Linked DNA regions of Homo sapiens: region 1 is linked to region 2. Evidence: promoter capture Hi-C in 16 types of primary human blood cells and fetal thymus (Javierre and others, 2016). All regions are on one chromosome and are shown on one strand. Each heading gives the region's core, a stretch centred on a gene start or on the middle of the fragment in contact. The rest is flanking DNA. Distances are from core to core; before and after follow the strand shown. Region 1 holds the start of TSTD2 (thiosulfate sulfurtransferase like domain containing 2). Region 2 holds the start of IPPK (inositol-pentakisphosphate 2-kinase).

Region 1 (3,685 bases), core at 1,155-3,654, 5.0 Mb after region 2:
TCAGCTTCAAATACAACTGTTCAAAACCAAACTTTCGTCTTCCCCAGTCTTCCTTATCTGAGTAAAAGACAATTTTATTCTTCCTGTTATTCAGACAAAAAAAACTTTGGGATGATTCCTGACTCCTTATTTTCTCACACTATCATTCACTTGTTCAGAAAATACTTTTTTTTGAGACGGTTTTCGTTCTGTCACCAGGCTGGAGTGCAGTGGGGTGATCTCGGCTCACTGCAACCTCCGCCTCCCAGGTTCAAGCGATTCTCCTGCCTCAGCCTCCCGAGTAGCTGGGAGTACAGCTGCACGCCACCACACGCAGCTAATTTTTGTATTTTTTTTTTTAGTAGAGACAGGGTTTCACCATGTTGGCCAGGATGGTCTCAATCTCCAGACCTTGTGATCCACCCACCTCGGACTCCCAAAGTGCTAGGATTACAGGGGTGAGCCACCATGCCTGGCCAGCTTTGCTTTTGAAGTACAATCCAATCAGATCACTTTGCACCACCATCTTTACTACCACCCTAGTTCAAGCTACTATCATTTGCAGCTAGAATTACTGCAAAAGCTGAACTATCTTCCTCCTTTGGGAGCATGAGAAGTAACTATTAAAAAAATAAGTCAGACTGGCCCTGCACAGAGGCTCATGCCTGTAATCTCAGCACTTTGGGAGGCCAGGAGTTCAAGACCAGCCTGGCCAACATGGCGAAACCCCATCTCTACTAAAAATATACAAATTAGCCTGGTGTGGTGGCGCATGTCTGTAATTGCCGCTACTTGGGTGGCTAAGGCACAAGAATTGCCTGAACCTAAAAGGCAGAGGTTACAACGAGCCAAGACCGTGCCACTGCACTCCAGCCTGGGCAACAGAGCGAGACCCTGTCTCAAAAAAAAAAAATCATACTCCAATGACTTCTCAATTCACTTGGATAATGTCCAAAGTCCTCACAGAGCACCTTCCCCCTACCTCTCTGATCTCATCTACCACTCTCCCGTTGCTCACTACCTATGATGGCACTATTTGTGGGTATTCCTGAATGGGTCGTTAGAATATATCAGCGCCAAGAGAGCAGGGGTTTTCCTTTGTTCACCTCTACATCCTCAGCATTCAGAACTCTGCCTGGCACCTAGGAGGTGCTAAATGCTAATAAATATAATATTCGTTGAATGAAATAAAACAGTGATTGGGTAACCAAAGAAGGCCTCACTAAGGACCTGACATTTGAGCTGAGACCTAAGTGACCAAGAGCCAGCCACGCAGATTTAGAACCAGAGACCTTCAGGTAAAGGAAATAGTATAAGTTCCTAAAATAAGAACAAGCTTGACTTATTGTAAGAACAGAAAGAGTGGTTGGAGTACAGTGAGGAGAAGTAGAACCCCACAGGCCATGGCATGGAGTGTGCAATGGAAAGTCGTAGGAGACTTTTTTTTTTTGACACGGTCTCACTTTGTTGCCCAGGCTGGAGTGCAGTGTGCGATCACCGCTCACTGCATTCTCGACCTCCTGGGCTCAAGGGATCCTCCCACCTCGGCCCCCAACCCTCCCCTCGAGTAACTGGGACTACAGGCGCCAAACACTAGGCTCAGCTAATTTTTTTTTTTTTCCTGTAAAGACGGTGTTCGCCTTGTTGCCCAGGTGGGTCTTGAACTCCTAGGCTCAAGCGGATCCGCCCGCGTCGGCCTCCCATAAGTGTTAGGATTACAAGCGTTAGCTACCCCGCCCGGCCGTCATAGGAGACTTTTAAACAAAGCAGTAACACGATCTGATTCTGGATTTGTGTTGAAAGCAGAGCAGGCAGGGTTTACAGATAATTGTTATGTAAAAAGAGGGAAAAGAGCTAAGAAAGACTCTAAATTTTTGGATTAAGCGGCCGACGGATGACGTCATTTACTGAAATGGGTAAGACCGAAGGAGAATTAGGCCGGGAGAGTGAAATTTCAGATGGCCATGGACAAAGCAGATAAGCCAGTATGGTGCTCATAAAGACATCAGGGGAGGGGACGCTCACACACAGGCATATAGGTACCCAATAACCCTTGAAAACAGATTACTAAAACAATCATTTGTTCCTTCCTAAGCAAACAACTTAAGGAAAATGACGGCCAGCCGGCAAGCCCGGAGCCGCACGCTCGCGTCAGGGCCGGCCTTTCCATACCAAGGGGCGGCACGTGCGGCACCGCCTCCCGCCCAGGCCCCACCCCGCATGCCGAGCTTGGCCCAACCTCTCCTCCCACTTTTCCCAAGGCGGCAAAAGCCGGAAAGTGGGAGTAGATGAGCACATACCCGCCAGTCCTGATCCTTTCTAAGGTCTCTCTTCCCTGCACTGTCTCCGCCTAGCAATTGTCACTGCTCACCGCCCTCGAGCCTATTCCCCCGCCGCGTATTTGGGTAGAAAAGCTCGCTCGTGACGTCACCAAGCTCCGGAAGTCTCCTGGCGTCGGCGCAAGGGCCGCCGGGAAAACCATTGAGAGGCCACCGGGAAACCATTGAGAAGCCCCGGAGGACCGGCCTGAGCGGAGGCGGAGACTAGAGCGGCCGCCGGCACGACCCGCCTTCAGGCGTACGACGACCGCGGCCCGGGGGCTCTGAGTGGCCAAAGCGGCGGCACTTTCTGCGTGGCCCCGGAAGGACATAGAGCGGAAGGCGGGAGAAAGAAGTAGCCGGCAGGCGGAGGCAGCCCGAGGGGGCGGTTGCATGTGTGCCAGACGTTCGTAGCCCACTGAGCTTCCTCACGCCGGCTGTCGCAGCGCCTAGCCCCACCCGGCGGCCTCTCCTGCGCTTCCGGGGCCGTGGCGAGCTAGTGCGCCTGCGTGCCGGCCCATCCGCGCGCCTTGCAGCTGTCCTTGCGTCGGCCAGCGGCCAGACAGTTCCTGCAGCGCTTACCGCCTGGCCTCTCGGTTCCGCGGCGCACCGGAGGGCAGCATGTCGCGGCGGCGGCACAGCGACGAGAACGACGGTGAGTGCCTGCGGCCCGGCCACGGAGGCCGCTCCCGGTTGGGAGCCGAGGCTCGGCGTCTTTGGGTGTCCACGGAAGAGACTGGAAGCTCTTCTCCCCGGGAACGTGCGGGGAGCCGCGGAGGGAAAGAGGAGAATATGGTGGCGGTGTGGTCGGGCGGCTTCTAGAAAGCGACTTCTCCCCCGCCCCAGTTCTTTGAGTCAAGGGCCGATCCTCGGGAAAGAAGGCCTGGTGAACCCCATGGGTAGACCCTTGGTCTCTAAGGATGCTTCAGAATTTCGTCCGTAAAACCACGGAGCAGGGAAGCACACCTGTGTCTGTGCTGCCGCCTCTTAGGGACCCACTGGTCCTAGTGTCTCGTTTTAACCTTCAAAGCTGCACCTGAAAAGGGCTCGGAAGAATTCACTGAAGGAAAGGACTGAGAGATCTCATGAGTTGCAGTCTGAACTCTGTTCCGGTAGTGGTTATCCGTTGATTTCACTTCTTTCAAGCTGCAGGGAAAGAATATTGTCTTACCTGCGCCCAAGAGGTCCCTAATAAACAGACACAGGTTACTGCAGATTTTGAACTGGCCGTAAGCGCATTTCCCTTGTGTGAGAGAGAGTGCTAGAAAACTAACTTCAGGCCTCTGAGAGAGTTAGAACAGGGGTTCCCATCTCCGTTTGGATGATTGTGCTCGTGGAGATCAGTGTTGCCTTCATAAAGATGGAATAATTCTAGTTTTAACAACAAC
Region 2 (4,112 bases), core at 1,047-3,546:
AGAGGTTGCAGTGAACCAAGATTGCGCCACTGCAGTCCAGCCTGGGAGACAGAGCAAGACTCCGTCTCAAAAAAAAAGAATGAATAGCATAGGTCTAGAACAGCCTGGTGGCTGTAGGTAAATTTGAAAAGGTGAAAGAAAAAATAAACAATCAACCTGGCGTGGTGGCTCACGCCTGTAATCCCAGCACTTTGGGAGGCTGAGGTGGGTGTCACTTGAGGTTAGGAGTTGGAGACCAGCCTGGTCAACACGGTGAAACCTCATCTCTACTAAAAATACAAAAATTAGCTGGGCACGGTAGCGCATGCCTGTGATCCCAGCTACTCGGGAGGCTGAGGCAGGAAAATCGCTTGAACCTGGGAGGCGGAGGTTGCAGTGAGCCGAGATCGCGCCACTGCACTCCAGCCTGGGCAACAGAGTGAGACCCCGTTTCTAAATAAATAAATAAATAAAAATAAACAATCATTACAATCAGAGCTGTGCAACAGGGTAGGGCCAGGCTGCCCTGGAGATGCCTACTCAGGGAAGGGGGTGGACACATACTTGTCTGGAACGTGCAGAGAGATCCAAGTGCCAGAGGCAACTGCGTCAAAGCCTCTGCTCTTTCAACATGGGTGTCCTTTTGCTCCAAGCCTGAAACTTGCTGCTTCATCTGCCACTACTTTTGAAATTTAATGTATCAGCCCTCACTAAAGAAAAGTCTTAGGTTTACCTAAAATGCAGAGATACATCTAATCTTACCAAGGAATTGGAAGATTAGTATTTGTTTTGGGAAAGGATTCAGGGGATCAGCACAGTAACCCAACAACAAAAGGACTCACGCAGAAACATCCCTCACTTTGCCAATAGTGGACTACACAAGAGAAGGACAGCTTTAGGTTAGCCTGGTCCATTATTAATTCACCTAAAGATCTTGAGCAAAGCTTGTAGTCTCTGTTCTTTAGTTCCCTGTGCTAATGAGCAACAAAATCCAAAGGCACAACCTAGGGGCTACCTGGGTGTTTGCAGCTTACACTACAGCTGACCAATGCACCCAGCATAGGAACAACAGAAGCAAGGCAGGACTCCACTGCCTACATCATCCCTGACAAGCTGTTCGACTCGGGCAATGCCCTTAACCTCTCTGATTTTCACTTTATTTATCTGTCCAAGGGATGACAATTATCACTTGCTAAGCATAACTTGATGGGTTCCTGCGTAACTGGTCTTTGCAACAATCCCACAAAGTGAATTCTACTACTAGTTCCACTTCACAAATGTAGACACTGAGATTCCTGTGCCTTTAACACCCATGCTCTAACTCCTCCCTACATGACACCTATCCTCGCCTCCCTCACCCCCCTCCCCCGTTCCAGCCGGCCACATTCCTGCGTGGTTGTACCAGACAGCAAAAGGTCAGAGAGATCTGGGCCCTCACAGAAACCCACACGCTTCACTCTTGGGATTCACCTTTGCGAGATCTTACTGCAGTTTCTAAAACTTTCACCCTCGTTGAATTCAGGTGAAAGCCTTCAAATTCTAAAAGGTTGAGAAGAGGACCTGTGGACAACATCCCCTTACTATTAACAGCACAGCAATTCCGTAGTCTCACGAGGCTGAACTCTTTTGGTGCTGAGAGTAACAGCACTGTGGGCACTCTGCTTCTTCCTCCAGTGCTGGCCGGGCCCTCCGTCCCAACCAAGCCTCCACCCCACTGCGGCCTGGCAGTCCGGCGGGCATCCAGGCGGGAGGCGGCACCGCGTGAGGCTGAGCGCGGCACCGACGGGGCGGGGAGGGGGATGTGGAACTGACTCTGACGGGGAACGGGAATACTGAGGGGACGACAGACCGGCCAGGAGAAGGATCTGGGGCAATGGGAGACTGACCCAGTAGAGAGGGGATACTGGGGTGATGAGGAACCCAAGCGGTAGGGGGGGATGCTGGAGGGTGGGGGAATTCCGGAGACCGGCCGGGGAGGAGGAAGGTACTGGGGGGACGTGGAACCGACCCTGTTGAGGAAACGGATAATGGGGGCGGGGTGATACCGGCCGTCGGAGTGAGGTACCGGACCTGCGCCGCACGTCCACCGCTCACCTGCGCGTGGGCCACCACCAGGCTCTTATTGCCCTCTCCGTGGTACCCCCATTCATTCTCGTCCATCTTCCCCTCTTCCATGCCCAGGCGCAGCCCTGGCGCCTCGCGGGCTAGGACTCGGGGACGCGAGCTGGGGGCCGCCCGCCTCGCTGGGAACCAGCCGCTGCGGTCGGGGGAGGAGCGCCTGTCAGCTGCCGCCCCCGCTCGACCCCGCCGCGGCGACTAGCAAGCTGTGGCCGCCGGAAGCCACGCCCCCGGCGCCTGCCATGACGGAGTCGGGCAATTCCGGGTTCGTGACACTTTCCTCACACCGATCGCGACGGTGGATGGGCCGGCGGCCATCTTAGGTACTGGTAGAGCGACTCATTTCCGGAACGCGGTCTTGGGAGCCGGAAGAGAAGCTTCCGGCCTCGGCGCCGGATGTGTAGCTGGCGGAAGGAGCCGGCGGCTTTTCGGCGCCCGGTAGTGACCGGCAGTCCCCGGGTAGCCAGGGTGTCTGGGTGTTGGGACCGCTTAGTCGCGAGACCCCAGCAAACCTCTTGGCGTCTCTGAGCCTCAGCTTTTGCTTCTGTAGAATAGGGTGTACTCATCGTACATTTCATGGGAATACCTAACGCAGTCATTTGGATGGTCCTGTGAGGTAGAAAACATTGTCCAACGTTCTACGCGAGGAAATGTGGCTGGGCCACAGGACTGGACTCCCCAGTCCCGCTTTTGCCTGAAGACTTCGAGGGACGCAGTTGGAGCGCAAGGCTCCTGCTTGGCGGTGAGGCAGAGGGCTAACGACCTTCCTTCTCCTAAATTCACTGATGCGGCGGCAAGAATGGCACCGCCTCGTAGAGCTACCGCATTTCCCAAACTCGTAGTCTCAGGACCACTTTATACTCATAAAAATGAGGGCCCCAAGCTTTTGCTAATGTGGGTTACAGCTATCGATGTTACCACATTCTAAGTTAAAATGCTTTAAAGTTTTTTGTTGTTTCGTTTAAAAGTAAACAGCCGGGCGCGGTAGCTCACGCCTGTAATCCCAGCACTTTGGGAGGCTGAGGCGGGCGTATCACCTGAGGTCAGGAGTTTGAGACCAGCCTGGCCAACATGGTGAAACCCTGTCTCTACTAAAAATACAAAAATGAGCCAGGTATGGTGGCGCAGGCCTGTAATCCCAGCTACTCCGGAGGCTGAGGCAAGAGAATCATTTGAACCCAGGAGGCGGAGGTTGCGGTAAGCCAAGATCGCGCCATTGCACTCCAGCGTGGACGACAGAGTGAGACTCCATCTCAAAAAAAAAAAAAAAAAAAAAAGTAAACATTACATTCCACGCCCACCACCAAAATAAAGGAGTGGTATTGTTTTACACTTTTGCAAATCTTTTTAAAATCTGACCTAATAGGTTCTCACATGTGCTTCGGCATTCGGTCTGCTGCAATATATTGCATTGGTTGACATACACATTGTGAAGAACATCTGCAGTTATGTAGTTCACAAAGAGAGGACCTGCAGACCCAACTTTGAGAACGGCTGGGCACCTTGCCAGGCCTTGGGAATTGTAGTGAAATCAGGCCAGTGACTCAGGAAAATGAGCTGAAGGCTTTGAGCATCTCTTTCCTCCATTTTAGGCCTCAAAAGGGAGGCTGGGGCAGGGCATGGTGACTCATGCCTGTAATCCCAGCATTCTGGGAGGCCGAGGTGGGCGGATCGCTTGAGCTTAGGAATTCCAAACCAGCCTGGCAACATGGTGAAACCCTGTCTCTACAAAAAATTAGCAGGGTGTGGTATCTGTGCCTGTAGCCCCAGCTACTTGTAGGGCTGAGGGGCTGAGGCGGGAGGATCGCTTGTGCCCGGGAGGTTGAGGCTGCAGTGAGCCGTGATCAAGCCACTGCACTCTAGCCTGGGTGACAAAGCAAGATTCTGTCTCAAAAAAAAAAAGTGGGGGAGGCTGGGTGTGGTGGCTCACGCCTGTAATCCCAGCACTTTGGGAGGCCAAGGCGGTGGATCATGAGGTCAGGAGTTTGAGACCAGCCTGGCCAATATGGTGAAAC

What was found. The method cuts DNA at HindIII sites, captures the fragments that hold promoters and counts their contacts. A CHiCAGO score of 5 or more calls a contact.
Region 1: the fragment with the promoter of TSTD2 here is called in contact with the fragment with the promoter of IPPK in region 2 in 2 of 17 cell types (total B cells and non-activated CD4 T cells); the score reaches 6.1 in total B cells.

What each region holds. Positions count from the first base shown.
Region 1 is chr9:97,630,964-97,634,648 of GRCh38, forward strand. TSTD2 (thiosulfate sulfurtransferase like domain containing 2) reads right to left here and starts at 2,405. Exons shown (of 10, transcript NM_139246.5): 1 at 2,280-2,405. It overlaps NCBP1 (nuclear cap binding protein subunit 1), which reads left to right and starts at 2,858. Exons shown (of 23, transcript NM_002486.5): 1 at 2,858-2,952. The coding sequence starts at 2,919. RefSeq lists enhancers at 2,326-2,655, 2,424-2,718, 2,883-3,685, 3,276-3,355. The HindIII fragment of the contact is 4,009 bases long and covers 1,314-3,685 here.
Region 2 is chr9:92,667,835-92,671,946 of GRCh38, forward strand. It overlaps IPPK (inositol-pentakisphosphate 2-kinase), which reads right to left and starts at 2,297. Exons shown (of 13, transcript NM_022755.6): 1 at 2,074-2,297. The coding sequence starts at 2,154. It overlaps LOC107987095 (a long non-coding RNA gene), which reads left to right and starts at 2,528. Exons shown (of 2, transcript XR_001746837.2): 1 at 2,528-2,839. RefSeq lists enhancers at 1,399-1,568, 2,309-2,758, 2,769-2,818, 3,573-3,867 and a silencer at 2,089-2,268. The HindIII fragment of the contact is 1,551 bases long and covers 922-2,472 here.